Linked DNA regions of Homo sapiens: all the other regions are linked to region 1. Evidence: promoter capture Hi-C in 16 types of primary human blood cells and fetal thymus (Javierre and others, 2016). All regions are on one chromosome and are shown on one strand. The core of a region is centred on a gene start or on the middle of the fragment in contact, and the rest is flanking DNA. Distances in the headings are between cores, read along the strand shown. Region 1 holds the start of TNFRSF19 (TNF receptor superfamily member 19). Region 2 has its middle 16 kb from the start of C1QTNF9B. Region 3 overlaps MIPEP (mitochondrial intermediate peptidase). Region 4 overlaps MIPEP (mitochondrial intermediate peptidase).

What was found. Contacts are between HindIII fragments. The CHiCAGO score rates a contact against its expected background, and 5 or more counts as called.
Region 2: a contact is called between a fragment that was not itself captured here and the fragment with the promoter of TNFRSF19 in region 1, in 5 of 17 cell types (megakaryocytes, fetal thymus, erythroblasts and 2 more). The highest score is 6.8, in megakaryocytes.
Region 3: a fragment that was not itself captured here is called in contact with the fragment with the promoter of TNFRSF19 in region 1 in 13 of 17 cell types (erythroblasts, M2 macrophages, M0 macrophages and 10 more); the score reaches 16.6 in erythroblasts.
Region 4: a contact is called between a fragment that was not itself captured here and the fragment with the promoter of TNFRSF19 in region 1, in 9 of 17 cell types (erythroblasts, M2 macrophages, megakaryocytes and 6 more). The highest score is 11.4, in erythroblasts.

The regions. Positions count from the first base shown.
Region 1 is chr13:23,568,468-23,572,084 of GRCh38, reverse strand. It overlaps TNFRSF19 (TNF receptor superfamily member 19), which reads right to left and starts at 1,673. Exons shown (of 10, transcript NM_148957.4): 1 at 1,237-1,673. RefSeq lists an enhancer at 3,238-3,617. The HindIII fragment of the contact is 1,879 bases long and covers 1,665-3,543 here.
Region 2 is chr13:23,911,746-23,915,362 of GRCh38, reverse strand. It overlaps the pseudogene ANKRD20A19P. Among named protein-coding and RNA genes, the nearest start is that of C1QTNF9B, 16 kb to the right of the region's middle. The HindIII fragment of the contact is 6,728 bases long and covers 1-3,617 here.
Region 3 is chr13:23,859,463-23,863,079 of GRCh38, reverse strand. It overlaps MIPEP (mitochondrial intermediate peptidase), which reads left to right. Exons shown (of 19, transcript NM_005932.4): 9 at 718-778. Among named protein-coding and RNA genes, the nearest start is that of PCOTH, 28 kb to the left of the region's middle. The HindIII fragment of the contact is 3,133 bases long and covers 472-3,604 here.
Region 4 is chr13:23,842,499-23,846,115 of GRCh38, reverse strand. The region is part of intron 10 of MIPEP (mitochondrial intermediate peptidase); the gene reads left to right. Among named protein-coding and RNA genes, the nearest start is that of PCOTH, 45 kb to the left of the region's middle. The HindIII fragment of the contact is 1,652 bases long and covers 1,063-2,714 here.

The sequences.
Region 1 (3,617 bases), core at 424-2,923:
GAAAGTAATTTAATTAATTGGCTGTGAAAAATTAATTACTTATGAAATGAGACTCATTAGACCTTTCCTGTTTCATCAGAATTTCAGACTAAAGGATAACTGGTCTTATCACTTATGGTTTCTTTATGGTTCAGCTAGCATCAAATAGACTTGTGATAATAATTAAATATTTTGCCCAGATAAATTTAGGACTAGAACATTAAAAAAAAAAACATCGCGAACAAAGTAACAGTGTTACTTTTCCATTGTATTTAGTTTTTATATTTCACTGTAAAGATTTTACTGTGTGTGTGTGTGAGCGTGAGTGTGTGTGTATCATGAACTGACAAAAAAATAACAGTTAACTTTCAAATTCGGTACAGCAATATAATTTGGTTTTGTCATGTTGGGCATTAGCTAAAGTGAAAATGTGACTAAGATACTTTATGTAACATAATAACTGTTGATTACTCAGATAGTTTTCATAAACAGTTGGCAAATTTTGACTTAAAACAGCTGTCACTATAAATGTAAAGTAAATGTTAATTTAGGAATATTAACCTTGTGAATGTTTCTGTAAATAAGGCTTATGCTATTTCCAAAGGTTATAGAAAATCACTGGAGTATTTTTAGCCAAACTTAGTGCAACTTTATCCTCACTGTTTTTAAATTCTTCAGTTTTACACATAAAAGTCTTTAATCATACTTGATGGTTTTTCAGTGATTCCCTTGAGTGTACAAACTGCATAAGGAAGTGTATTTGATAGATTTACATCTTGGAAGTGAGAGAATAAATAAACTAAAGAAACAGTATTGCCAGAGATACATTTTACTCTTTTATATAAGAAAACAAAGAAAGCATTTTCAACAAGCAAAGTTGCACTGACTGTTTACTAAATAAGGTAACCTGTAAATACTTAGAGCAATTATAGCTCACAGATCTCAGGGGTTGAAGTACCAGTTGCATGCTAAAGTGAGCGCTGTTCTGTTTTGTCCTGTTTGTACAACTCATTTCCAAGTAAAATTTGTATGACAGACTGCAAACCCTCTTGTACAAACTACTAAAAATTACATCAAGTTCCATAGTTACTCTGATACACACATTCAGCATCATGTAGTATTCAGCTGTATAAATGCTTTCTAAAAAATTAATTAAAACCATTCTTTTCTCAGAACACATGCGAAAAATGCAGTGAAAGCTATAACAAAGCTTAAAACAGAGTACCTGCAACATGCTGAGCTCTTTGCAGTACTTACCCGTTCAGCAACTTAGTTTCTCCTGGCAGCACTTCTGTGCCAAATGCTTCTACCTTCCCAAAAATGTATGTCAGCACAAGCCCAGACGAAACTTCAAATCCAGGAAAATAAAATTAACCATGCAGATCAAAGGCAGACGAGCAGGGAGATGAAATGCCTGTAATCTGATCAGTGAATCAGTTGCTGAACATCAAAGGCAGGGCTGAGTTTATATATATGCATGGATATCAAAGAAAGTTCACTTTCAGCAGGTAGTTACCCTCCCACCTCCTAGTCCACAGACTCTTTTGTTAAACATGGATCACGTTGTTTTCCTCCTCTTTTTTGCAATGAGGCAATGCTGGTAGTTCTCCCATGCTTGGGCTGAGTGGCTGGATCTGTAGCTTTTTTGGTTCCCAAGCTGTGTTGTGGACTGTGTGTTGGAAGCTTTTCCTAGTGCCAGCGGGTTCTGCTTTATCCCTTTCATCTCGCTGAACTGCAGATCCCATGACATCATTCAGCGCCGTGGGACTGGTAGGAGAGCTATAATTCAGCCTGTGGGGGAGTATAGCTCAAGAGAAGCCAGAGTTTGGCTGATTTCTAATCATGTTAGACTATTGTGCCTCACACAGGACAGTTTCTGTTATCTGTCTGCCAGCTGGAAAGGACAGCAACTGCTGCTGGATGCTTCTTGGGTGATAAGATCCCTGATGGATGGACGTGCCAAATGACAGCATTTAATTGCCTCTTCGCTGATAAAAATCACAATTTCCTACAGAGACTGGGTGTCAAATATTCAGCATAGTTAAATAGCACTATGAGACCACTCTAAAAAACACCCAAGGACACTGCCAGATGGACCGATAACATTTTCACATTTTGATTCCAGTTTTCAAAGTGACAAGTCTTTAAGGATTTTAAGGAAACTGCCCTTTCTTTGAAACATACATTATTAGGATCTGATTACCAATCAAACCGGGTTGTGTTAAGTAGTTAAGCAGCAGATAACCAACAATTCATGAATAAACTGCCATCTTCCACTGGCTCACTTAAGACTTTGGGCGGAGACTTAATCTCAATCTTTGCCTTAGTTCGGGACTCTGGAAATTAGATTTTAAAGCAATATCTACTTCTTAGACATATTTCATTAATACTTGTTGAGCATTTTAAAATTCACAAAAGAAGAATTATGTAGAACAAAGCATTTGCCCTGTGATTATTCCAAAGCCATGTTATTTGCCTTTTAGGGCTGTTTCTTCCGAACTCATAGTTTGGACTTTCAACTCACTAAAAAATTACCACCTTAGCCTAATTCTTCGTATTTTAAAATTAAATATATTGCTCATTATTTAAAAATTTTAAGCTATTTTCCTTAACAATGTCAGATTCAATACAATATGATTATTTTATTTTGAGTATTTAGTAAAATAGAAGATAAGAAGAAGTTTCATCTTCCTTGAAATCCAGGATATGGTGCTTTTCTGATTTTCAGACAGTTCTTTCATGGAATGAAGACAATTTTTCTATTTTATAATGGAAACTCACTAACTTTTAGAAAGTAAGTTAAAAATATTTTTGCAAAACTTAGGGGATAGTAGAACTCAGTCTTTTTCAATGTAACTTCCCTCCTTAACTGGTTTTGTCTAATTTTTCCTGACGCGATATTTGAAAACGTTATTTATGAAGTGTTTATTTCCAGATTTCTATGATTCTTGAATAATTTTAATAGCAAAATATTTAGTTTGAACTGTTCATAAGTTCTGTATAACATTTAAATAGTCCTGTTGATTTTTCCATGTTTCTTGTATAATTTTTCTACTTATACATCATTTCTCAAAAATGCACAGGGCTCAAATAGTATTTGAACTGGCAGGTGTGATGCTTAAGGACTTCCTTAAAGCAGACCAGGAAAATTCCTGTGACATCTGGGCTTCACATACGTTTCCTGGGCATCTTGAACCCATGAATACAAAGAAAATATTTACAAAGACAAAATATTTACAAGAAGGCATGTGCCCATTTCTTTTCTGAGGTAGTCCAAACCTACCACCAGCATGGAATCCATATGCCAACAGCCTGCACTCAGGATTAAAGTTTCCCGATACACTGATATATTAAATCAGAGCAACTAGACACTCTGTAAGGCTCATTGGCTAAGCAAGTAGATTTTATGTCTTTATAGATTTCAACACCAGTAGAAATAGGTGAAGGACTGAATTCGGGTTCTTGTGTTCCACTGAAAAACATACAGGAGGCACTTGAAAGCAGGGACTTGAATGAAAACCAATCAAATGATCTTCAATTTATACAAATCTCCCCAAGCAAGCTTTGTAGTTCAAGATACATCCAACAATGCAATACCATCTCCAGTGGAAGAGTTTATTCACCAAGTCACTGGATAT
Region 2 (3,617 bases), core at 569-3,068, 340 kb before region 1:
TATAAAATTTCTTAAGGTAGTCTCTGGCTTAGCAATTCATGAAATGAGAACTTTCTGCAGAAAATAGAGGCTATTGATTGAGTTTGTTGAAAGCTGTCTCTTATTAGATTTTTAATTCATAGGGTAGATTTTAAAGTCGCTAATAATTCTATGCAATATTCCTAATTTATTTCTATGAAAATGTACAGAAAAACCTTCATTATTTTTGCATAGGCTTAATAGGTCGTGAGTGTTCTTACAAAAGTTCTAGTTTCCCTGATAGGTTTAATCGGAATGATAAAATTGCATAAATCTTCCTATTGTGACTTAAGGAAACTCGTTAGTAGGAGCATCTACCTCATTGCTCCAATTTAGTATTCATGACACAATTTTCTGACCTTCATTCCTACAAAGGAAAGCATGAATGTCAGGAGAATTCTGTTTTGCTTTGTTATCATTTATATAGTTTTCACTCTACATCAATAAATTGATATCCTAGAGTATGTATCCATCTTTTCTGCGATTGGACTGTTAAGGCTTTGAAAGGCTGATGAACACAGGTGAATGGAAAAAGATTACTTTCTGAACATTATGTTAGGAGGACTATGTTACTCCCTAAGGCCCTCCTGGAGCACCCATTTCTACTTTTTCACTGGCATCTCTTTTCTTTTTTTTTTAACTTGCAGTAAGAAAAACACATGCTGTAGGGGAAAAAATACTTGTATAATGAAGTAGTATCCATTAGCAGCATTATTTCTAATGGCCAAAAGATGGAAATAACCCAACTTTCCCTCGATGCATGAATAAATTTTTTTAAAATGTATATATAGGCCAGGCGTGGTGGCTCACGCCTGTAATCCCAGCACTTTGGGAGGCCGAGGCAGGTGGATCACGAGGTCAGGAGATCGAGACCGTCCTGGCTAACATGGTGAAACCCCGTCTCTACTAAAAATACAAAAAATTAGCTGGGCACGGTGGCGTGCACCTGTAGTCCCACCTACTCGGGAGGCTGAGGCAGGAGAATGGCGTGAACCCGGGAGGAGGAGCTCGCAGTGAGCCGAGATGGCGCCACTGCCCTCCAGCCTGGGCGACAGAGCGAGACTCTGTCTCAAAAAAAAAAAAAAAAAAAGTAGGTATAAAATATTGATTTTAGACTATCATAATCTCTTTTATTAAAATGTGACTTTTATCAAAATCATTAACTTTATGAATTCAGTCAACTTATTCTATGAAGTCAAGAAGATTGCACTACTAGTGGCAAGTAGTATCAATATGAATAAAATATTTTTTTATCAATGAGACTTTTCACATTGTCTGAAATATTCTTATATACTGATAGACCCCCAACTTACAATGGTTCAACTTGTAATTTTTTGACTTCACCATGGTGTGAAACTATTGCAATTTCAACACAGTCTGAATTTTGAATTTTGAATCCTGATCTTTTCCCAGGTTGGCAATACGCAGTACATGGGATATATAATACTTTATTATAAGACTTTGTGTTAGACGATTTTGCCCACCAGTAGGCTAATGTAAGTGATCGGATAATGTTTAAGGTAGGCCAGGCTGTGATGTTTGGTAGGTTGGGTATATTAAATACATTTTCATCTTACAATGCTTTCAATTTACAATGGCTTTATTGGGATGTAACCCCATCATAAGTTGAGGAGCTTCTGTACTATGGGTTGAAAATCTCTACTCTAAAAACCTGAAGCTCCAAAATCTGACACTGTTTGAATGCAGACATAATGCCCCAAGTGGAAAATTCCACATTTGACCTCATGTGACAGAACAACAGCAAAACACAGTCAAAACTTTGTTTCATGCACAAAATTATTTTATAAAATCCTGTATAAAATTCGGGCTATGTGTATAAGGTATATATGAAATGTAAGTGAATTTTGTGTTTAGACTTGGGTCTCATTCCTAAGATCTTTCATTAAGTATACACAAATATTCTAAAATCAAAAGAATACAAAATTTGAAACATTTCTGGTCTCAAGCATTTTGGATAAGGGATATTCAATCTGTCTTACTAGAAAAATAAAATTTCTATTCAGTATGACAGAAATTTAAAAATTGACTTACCAAACTTGGACTTAACCGGTTTTTCTCAAACTGTTCATTTTTTTCCACTTGATTTTTGACTGGAATTTTTACTTGGAAATTTTTTATATTAAGCCTAAAAGGTAGATTTTAAAATAATTATCCTCAAAGATACATTTCTAAAATATCACATAATTTCTAAGCATCTATGATTATGTAAATTCTTAAAGAGTTGAAAAATAGATGATTGGGAGACTGTATCATTTTTCTACCTATATTTTGTGGGTAATGTGCAAAATTTAGGAATAACGTACAAAAATTATGCATTTCAAAATAGCTTAAAGGTGAACTTTATCCTTGGCTTCACACAGATGCGCTTATTATCCTCACTCATACAATTATCATACTACATTGTTTATTTGCTTTATAAATACTCAAGTTACTTTAACTTATGCTTTTGCATGTAGTCTTGAGTCTTTTCAGCACCTCCTGTAACATCTGTGATTTGATCCTTTGCTTCTTGCAACTAAAACAAATAATCATAATAATAAACTCTACTTATAATCTAGTACAAACCTGCCCATCACCTGCTTTTGTAACTAAATTTTATCGAAACACAGCCACACCTCTTCAATCTGCATATTGTTTATGGTTACTTTTGTACTGTAACTAGAGAGTTGAGTTGTTGCAACAGAGATCCTATTGCTCACAAAGCCTCACATAATACTATCTGATCCTTTACAGAAAAGTTTACCAATCCTGCTCTAGGACCAGAACACAACATTATTCTATTTTTCTGTGTTTAAATTATATTTGATTAGATAAATACTCAACTTACAAAATTTGTAAAATGGGAAAAGATAGGAAATTAACATAAGATAAACCTTTATATTTTTGAATTACAAGCACCGTTACATCAACTTATTTAATTTTCTTTGTGTGTACACATCTAGTTTGATTGTAATAACTTGTATACTTTTAACATTTAAAACTAGCATCTTTCCAGTAAAACAAAAAGAAAATTTAAAAATAAACAAAAACAAAACTACAATAGACAATGTCAATTCCAAATGAGATCCTGATTCTCCTGTTTAGCAACAGAGTTCAAGCCATCATTAGGAGACAATGTATTTTAAAAGTGTCATCTTAAACTGCAAGGATATTCATTAAACATCACAAACAAGGCATAGGAGAAGCCATGTTATAAAATTGCCCGTTTAGCCCACCAAAACATCTCAAACCCACCCTGGGCTGACCTTCTATAACTCCATTTTTTAGAGGTTTTTTTTTCTGTTTTTAAACAAGAGAAATTAGATAGACACATGTTGGAGAATGCTCACTGTTCTTATTCACATACAGACAGGATATACTGTCAGCCTAATATACAGAGAGAGGTGGGGAGAAAAATGTATTGTTATGCACTATTTCTTGGGAGCCTAGGCACCCTCTAGCTTTTAGCAGAGTGAAGAGTGAAAAAAAAAAGGTTATTTCATTTTGTTTTGTTTTCCCCCACACAGCTTCATGCTGTTGATTCCATACAGTGTTTGTTGAGGTACAAGGAGGAACAAAAGTAAATGTGAAACAGAAAG
Region 3 (3,617 bases), core at 789-3,288, 290 kb before region 1:
ATGCCTTAGAACTCATTCTTCTCTAGTTTGGATTATGTTTATAAATTCTAAAATTTTCTTTTAATGATCCTGGTGAACCACTGTGTCTTTGATACAATAAAGAAAGAGGGTTAGTTATGCACTTATTGAGGATTTATCCTGCTTTACTTAGTTAAGTGTTAGTAGTCTTTCTCTACATAGCTATAGATTTTAGAGCAAGCATAGCTTCATCATTTTACAGGTATATATAGGAATTAATTCCAATATACATGTCATATTCTACAAATATTAAATACCTATTTAATTATTGACCAGCTAGAGTTTTTCCAAAGGGGAAAAATGACTAGAAATCTTAAATGTAGCCAATGATAAAATTCCTTTCTAGGAGTTAATTTGTTAAGTCTCTTTTAAAGGTATAGCAAAAAGTAGTGATTTAAAGTTAGTGATTAATGCTTTGCATATTTGTAATGACATTGCTAGTTTTTCCAAGCTTTAGTACTCTTGAGACATTTATCCACCATGATGCTTTTTAAGGTAGAAATCGCAGTAATATGCTGCTTTATATATTGTTATTTCTCATGACACTTAGGTAAAATTTGGATTAATAGTGATTTATGTGTGCACTACTAATTGTATCTAATCTTATGAATATTGGAATGTAACATAAGCAAACTAGTCCTTTCATAATGTAATTGTTAAAATTTTGTCCTAACAAGTAATGATAAACCTGTTTTATAGAACTCTGAAAGATTTTGAGATGATACGAGGGATGAAAATGAAACTGAATCCTCAAAATTCCGTAAGTATGTTGGAATATTTTTATTATAATATAGACAGTCTGTCAACTGAAATCAATATCTTTTGATTCAGGAACTTTCTTGTGATAGGCTACAGGTCCATTTAGTCTTGTTTCTGATCCTCGGTTTTGGTGAATAAAGATGTTGAAATATTTGATTCTTATGTCCCAAACTGATGTTGCCTGTACATACAGCATTTTTGTTGAGGAGTCGACATATTTTATGTATATACACTAACACAATGTGTATATATTCATGCAAAGACTGCTTTCATTCTGTGGAATGTTGGCTTCTCAGTTTGAAGCAGACTTTAAGGAGACTCAGTGGAGGCTTCATCTGGCAGGTGGCAATTTTAACCATCAGTGTTAATGTTGCAGTTCATTTGCTTATTTGTTAGCTAATTTATGGTGCCCAATTGAGTATTTGACTAACAAAGTATACCACATTCTAAAAACACTTAAGTGTTGTTTTCAATCATATGATTATATGATCTTCCTTATGTGATCCAAGAGTATAGACAAGTATTGTTATGGCCAGAATGCTGCCCAGGTGATTGGGGGAGTGCCCTGAAAAGTGTCGAGAGTCCAGATATTAGGACTCATTCCCATTTGGTTCTAGGGCACTACAGGATTGCCGGGGTTGTCTACACCATTCTTTTCCAAATGCTGTTATTAGTTCTTGACTTAGTTGCTGCTGCCAGAGCCATAGTCATAAGGAAGATTTAGGGAAATGGGCCTTGCAGATTTACAAACTGTTTACTAGCTTCCCAGATACAGCCACTAGGAAACAGATTAATCCCATTAAACTCAGCGATGTGTAGAGTAGCATGTCAGTCTGTTAATTTATGGAAGGAGCTGTGTCTAGCAAAGTAACTACTGTTAGTCATCTGCACAGTCATCTGCACACCTTGACCTGGTAGGTAGGCTTATTTGGGAAACCAGATAATAGGTAAGAATTTAGTTTGGTGACTATAGAAACAGAAAAATAAAAAACAAAATGTGTTGCCAAAAGCTAATTCAGTAAAAGTGAATATGACTTTAAACTGTTATCTGTAGATATTTGTATATAGCTTATGGATACAATTATTCTGCAGATATTTGTGAAATGCCCAATCTCCTCATGAAGTCCCTGCTTTGGTGAATGGTGCCACCATTCACCCTGCTGCTCTGGTCAGGACCTATACTTAATCCAGACCAGTGGTTCTCAAAGTGTGGTTCCTGGACCAGAAGCAGTAGCATCACATGGGAGCCTGTTAGAAATGCAAATTCTTGAGCCCCACCTCAGACCCACTGAATCAAAAACTGGGGTGAGCTCCACAATCTGTGTTTCAACAAGCACCCCAGGCACTGCACACTCCCCTCCCCCATAATCATTTGTTAGGTCCTGCAGATTCTCCCTCCCTGTGAACTCTTGTGTCTTCTCCTGTGCCCATTGCCATAGCCTGGGCTATGATCCCAATCATTATTCTCACCCAGATGGTAACTGGGATTGCCTAACTGGTTTCTAGCCTTTTGTTTTTGCTCCACTCGAAGCCGTCTTGGATTCAGACAGTTTAGCCATGTATTTAGCCCAGTGTTAGGCATAGAATTGGTTGTCAACACTTATTTGAACTATGAATGAATAATGAATGAATGAATTGCCACCAGAGGGATTTGTCTAAAAAGCAGATCTGATCTTGTCACTCTGTTGTTTAAAATTATTCAGTAGCTCCTGGTTATTCTCCAGTTTCCCTTCCTACTACCCTGCTGCTCCCGCCAAGCCCTCATGATTTGGCCCTTGCCTCCTTCTCTAGCTTCATCTTCTGCTGCCCCTCCAAGCCGAGGCTGTGTTCTTTGCTCTCTCCTAATACCTGTGTGATGCTCATGTGATCTCTATTCACTTAGTTTTGCTTTCTTTCCTTGCTTTGCTTTCTTTGATTCTTTAATTTGAATTAATATTTACGTGCCGGCCACATAAATATGGCATGGTGAGCAGCTTCCAGTCATTTACAAACACCACCTACAGGAATGCCTTTCTCCCTTTCTCATCTGGATTAACTGCTTCTATCATAAAACTCAATTCAGGCTTTGCCTTCTTGAGAACATTTCCTAACCTTCCGCTGTGATTTAAATACTCTTCTTGTGGGCTGTGTTTTACATGGCACAATGTAGACATGACATACTGTCCTCTGATTGTTGAGTCACTTGCCCTTCTACTGCCTAGGCTATCATCCTCTTGTTTTTGTCTGATTACAGCCTGCACTCTGTCTGCATCTAGCAGATAGCAAATAATCATCTGTTAGAGAAAATGTGTGCCAGGACCAGAACACTGTGGGGCTAGGGTTCCATGGACGCAGTCCCTGCCCTTCAGGCACTCATGAGGAGAAAGAAAATAAGCCTACAAGTATCTTAGGTTGTCATGCATCCCATGATATAAGTATTACCATGGAATATGGGAAATAACACCTTGTTATTGGAGGAGATTATGCCTAAACTGAAATGTTAAAGGATAATGGTAATAAGGAGAGTAGCCAACATTTGTTGAGCCCTTACTCAATGCCAGATATTCTACTTAATAGTTTAAGTACATTCAGCAGTCTTCTTTGGGAGGTACTGTTGATTCTTTCAACAAATATTTACTGAGTGACTACCCTGGGCCAGGTACTGTTCAGGGGACAGGAATGTAATAGGGAAGGATGCAAACAAAGTCCCTGTCATCATGCAGTTTATAGTCTGGTATGGATTGGAAACTTGAGCCCAGGCAGTCTGTCTTCACAGCCTGGTCTCTTAACCACTCTTTTGTCCACCTGGACACCTAGAAGGAAGGACAGTCATTCAAGTATTCAAGCTTTCCCTTCTTTCA
Region 4 (3,617 bases), core at 639-3,138, 270 kb before region 1:
ATTATCTAAAATTGCTAAACCAATAAATAAATGTTTATTTTAAAACCAATAGAGGCCCGTATCTACCAAAAGTATCAAAATTAGGAGGCAGGAGAATCGCTTGAACCCAGCAGGTGGAGGTTGCAGTGAGCTGAGATCATGCCACTGCACGCCTGGGTGATAGAGCATGACTCCGTCTCAAAAAAAAAAAAAATTAAAAACAATAGAGAAACCACCAGAGAAGCTAAAATATAGACTATAAATATCACTAATATATCAAATTATTAGAAAGAAAAAGGAAATGCAGCACACATAGCTAAAGAAGGAAAATAAAGGAAGCATTAAAAGAAACGTAACAGAATTACATTGGCGAGAGTGAGAGCACTAGGTATTTTCATACACTGCAGGTAGGAATGTAAGTTAGAAACAGCTTTTTTTAGAGGATAATTTGGAAATACATATCAAAAAACTTAAGATCTTGTACTCTTTGCAGCAATGCCATTTCTTCAGTTTATCTTATGGATAGGCTTGTGTGGGTGTGACAAGGACATTTCACTATGGCATCACTTTAACAGATAAACTAACAGCAGCTTACCGTCAGTTAAAAGGAACAGAGGCAGACCAAGGCAGGGAAGTGAGCTCTGGGTGTGGCCTAACGGGATGCATTTTCTGTAAAAAAGTTAAAATCAATAATAAAACTGATGAAAAGTCTGGGTTCCTTTAATATCCCCATATGTGGGAAATTCCAAACGATGTCAGTGGTCGGATGCTTCCCCCATTGATGCTTCAGGCTCTCATTGACCTTGCCTCCTCTGCTCATGTACAACACAACAGGAGATGCATGAAATGAGCTTTGTCATGTGTTTGCTGTGGATGACTACACCCATGAAAGAAAACAGGCTAGAGCTTTATATACTAAACTGGAAAGTATTCCAAGTTATATTTTTATGAAAAATATATGTGTAAAAATACATATCATTGATATATTTTTATGTTAAATAAAATTGCGAGATAGTGTGAATGGTATGATTCTATTTGTGCCAAAGTAGGTTTATATATACATAAAGTTTACATGCATAAGCTTCTAAGAGTGTGCATAGGAAATGCCTGGAAGGATACACAAGATATTTACCTCTGGGGGTGGGCATAGTGAGCCAGGGGACAAGACAGTATACTTTTTGCCCATTGTTAATATTTTTGAGGTGTTTTTATTTTAAAACAGGCAGTTTAGAAATTCATTTGTTCCCAATCATTTTAGGGTAATATTGTAATATTATATGAACTTATATTCTATACTTAAATTTTTTTTCCAAGATAAATTGTTTCCTTGAATTTTGCCCAACACATAATGATTGTCATGGTCATTGGATAAGACAGTAAATATTTTTAGGTTATAGTTTAGTAAAATAAGCTGTGTTACTAGCTTTACTGTGTTTCTTTTCCATAAAAATAAATGTTCATTATAATCTTAAGAAGGGTAGAATTTTAATATGTAAAGTTTCTTTTTATTCTCCTTTATTTTTGTGTTTTTATTGTCTGGAAACAAAAAAATGAATTGCTTTTTATAACCAATTATAGTTTAAACTTTCTTGCCTTGGTAGTAGGTTCTATGGGAGGTTTCTGCTCTGGTAAGCTGTGATTCTCTATGGCTGCCTGCCTTTCTTTCCAGTTTTGGGGGCAGCAGTTTGCTCTGTGGCCTTGATTCTCTGCTGAATCTAAGAAGATTCTTGATTTTCAGCTTGTTCAGCTTCCTGCTTGTTAGGATGGAGTGGTGACTTTCAACCTCCTCATGTGCAGGAGTGGAAACCTCAAGCCTGGACCACTTCCTTTTATAGTTTATTTTCTCCCCTCTTTCCATGCACTCCTTTCTCTCAGTTCTTCAGTACCTCTGAACTGTTCTGTGTCTTCCTTCCCACCCCTCCCTCTGGTAGTTCAGGGGTCTGCCCTTTACCTTCTCTGCCCGCATCGCCCTTCCCTAATGGCCCTGTCTCCCTCTATGGCTCTAATATCTGTACAGTGAAGTCTCCTTGTTCTCCTTAGCTTTGGGTCCTGAGTGTCTGGTATCTCATGGGCACTTCACAGTCGGTTCCTCCAAAATGGAGTTTATTTTCTGTGAGCCCTCCATCCTCCTCCCATCATTGCACCTCACCCTCCTCTCTTCTCCCACAAACACACCCAGATTCCCCTCTTCCTTTTTTGTGTTCATTGTGCCGGCTGATTCAGTGACTCTACCATCCACTTATTTGTCCAAGCCAGAAACCTGAGTGTTATTCTAGATTGTTCTGTCTTTCTCATCACCCTCCAAATCCAATCACTCACACAGTCCTGAGACGTTTGCATCTCAAAGGAAAAACACATTCATCCCTGACCCCACTGCCCTCTGTCAGAGTTCACCCTCTGAAGCCTGGAAGTCTGTCCTCCTGTCAGCCCTCCCTGCCTCCTGCATTCCACCCTCCATGCTGTCCACTGTGCAGCATTCCAGAAAACATCAGATGCTCCCCTATGGCCTACAGAAGCTGTCTCCCAAATGGCATCTGTAAGCAATTCATTGAGAGTGTAGTCATAAAATATTAGAAATTCTATGTATATTTATTTTTCTTTATCTCAACTTATAAAAATGTCTGCTTTTCTTTTTGCAATGTGATAAAACAATACCACATGCATATACTTTATGAGTGTACTAATAGAAGGTTGAATACTCAAAAGTTATTTTAGTGTGCATTGGTGAGGAAGCTTAGAGGCCATGGCCTATGGTGCATGGTCCCAGTTCCTCAGCTTAGTGGACCAGGCCCTCTGTTTTCTGGCCCCTGCCTGCCTTTTCCAGACTCCGCTCCCATTCTTTCTACATTTATCCCTGCATTGGTAACTGCTTCATCTTTAACCACATCCTTTCTAGAAGTTACCAGGCTATTTTATGCCATCATACTTTAGTTATACTGTCGCTTCTGCCTAGAATTCCTATTATGATTCCCATTTTCCATTCCTCATCCCAGCCCTGCCTTGCAAAGTCTGATTCCTTTTTTTTTTTTTTTTTTTTTTGAGATGGAGAGTCTTGCTCTGTCGCCCAGGCTGGAGTGCAGTGGCACAATCGTGGCTCACTCAACCTCCGCCTCCTGGGTTCAAGCAATTCTCTGCCTCAGCCTCCCGAGTAGCTGGGATTACAGGCACCCGCCACCACACCCGGCTAATTTTTGTACTTTTAGTAGAGACGGGGTTTCACCATGTTGGCCAAACTGGTCTTGAACTCCTGACCTCATGATCCACCCACCTCAGCCTCCCAAAGTGCTGGGATTATAGGCGTGAGCCACAGCACCCGGCCGATTCTTTCTTGATTCCTATCCGAGAAGCTTTCCCTGGTGCTACTCTGCACTCCACAAGTAAAGTCATCATGCTCTCCTTTGCCCTCCCATTTTGCAGTGCTCATTCGTTCATGCTTCAGCACTGTCTGTTGAGCGCCAGCCGTGTGCCCACTGCACCAGGCCCAGGACACAGTGTAGTTGGTTCACTTCTCTGCCTCTTTCAGTGCCAGCTGCTTAGACACAAAGGCTCTTCATTCTTCTCTTCCAGCACCCCGCAGGTTTGCTGACAGCATGCTTGAGTGAACGAACCAGGGAGCGAGGGCACTGGATCATGAACGT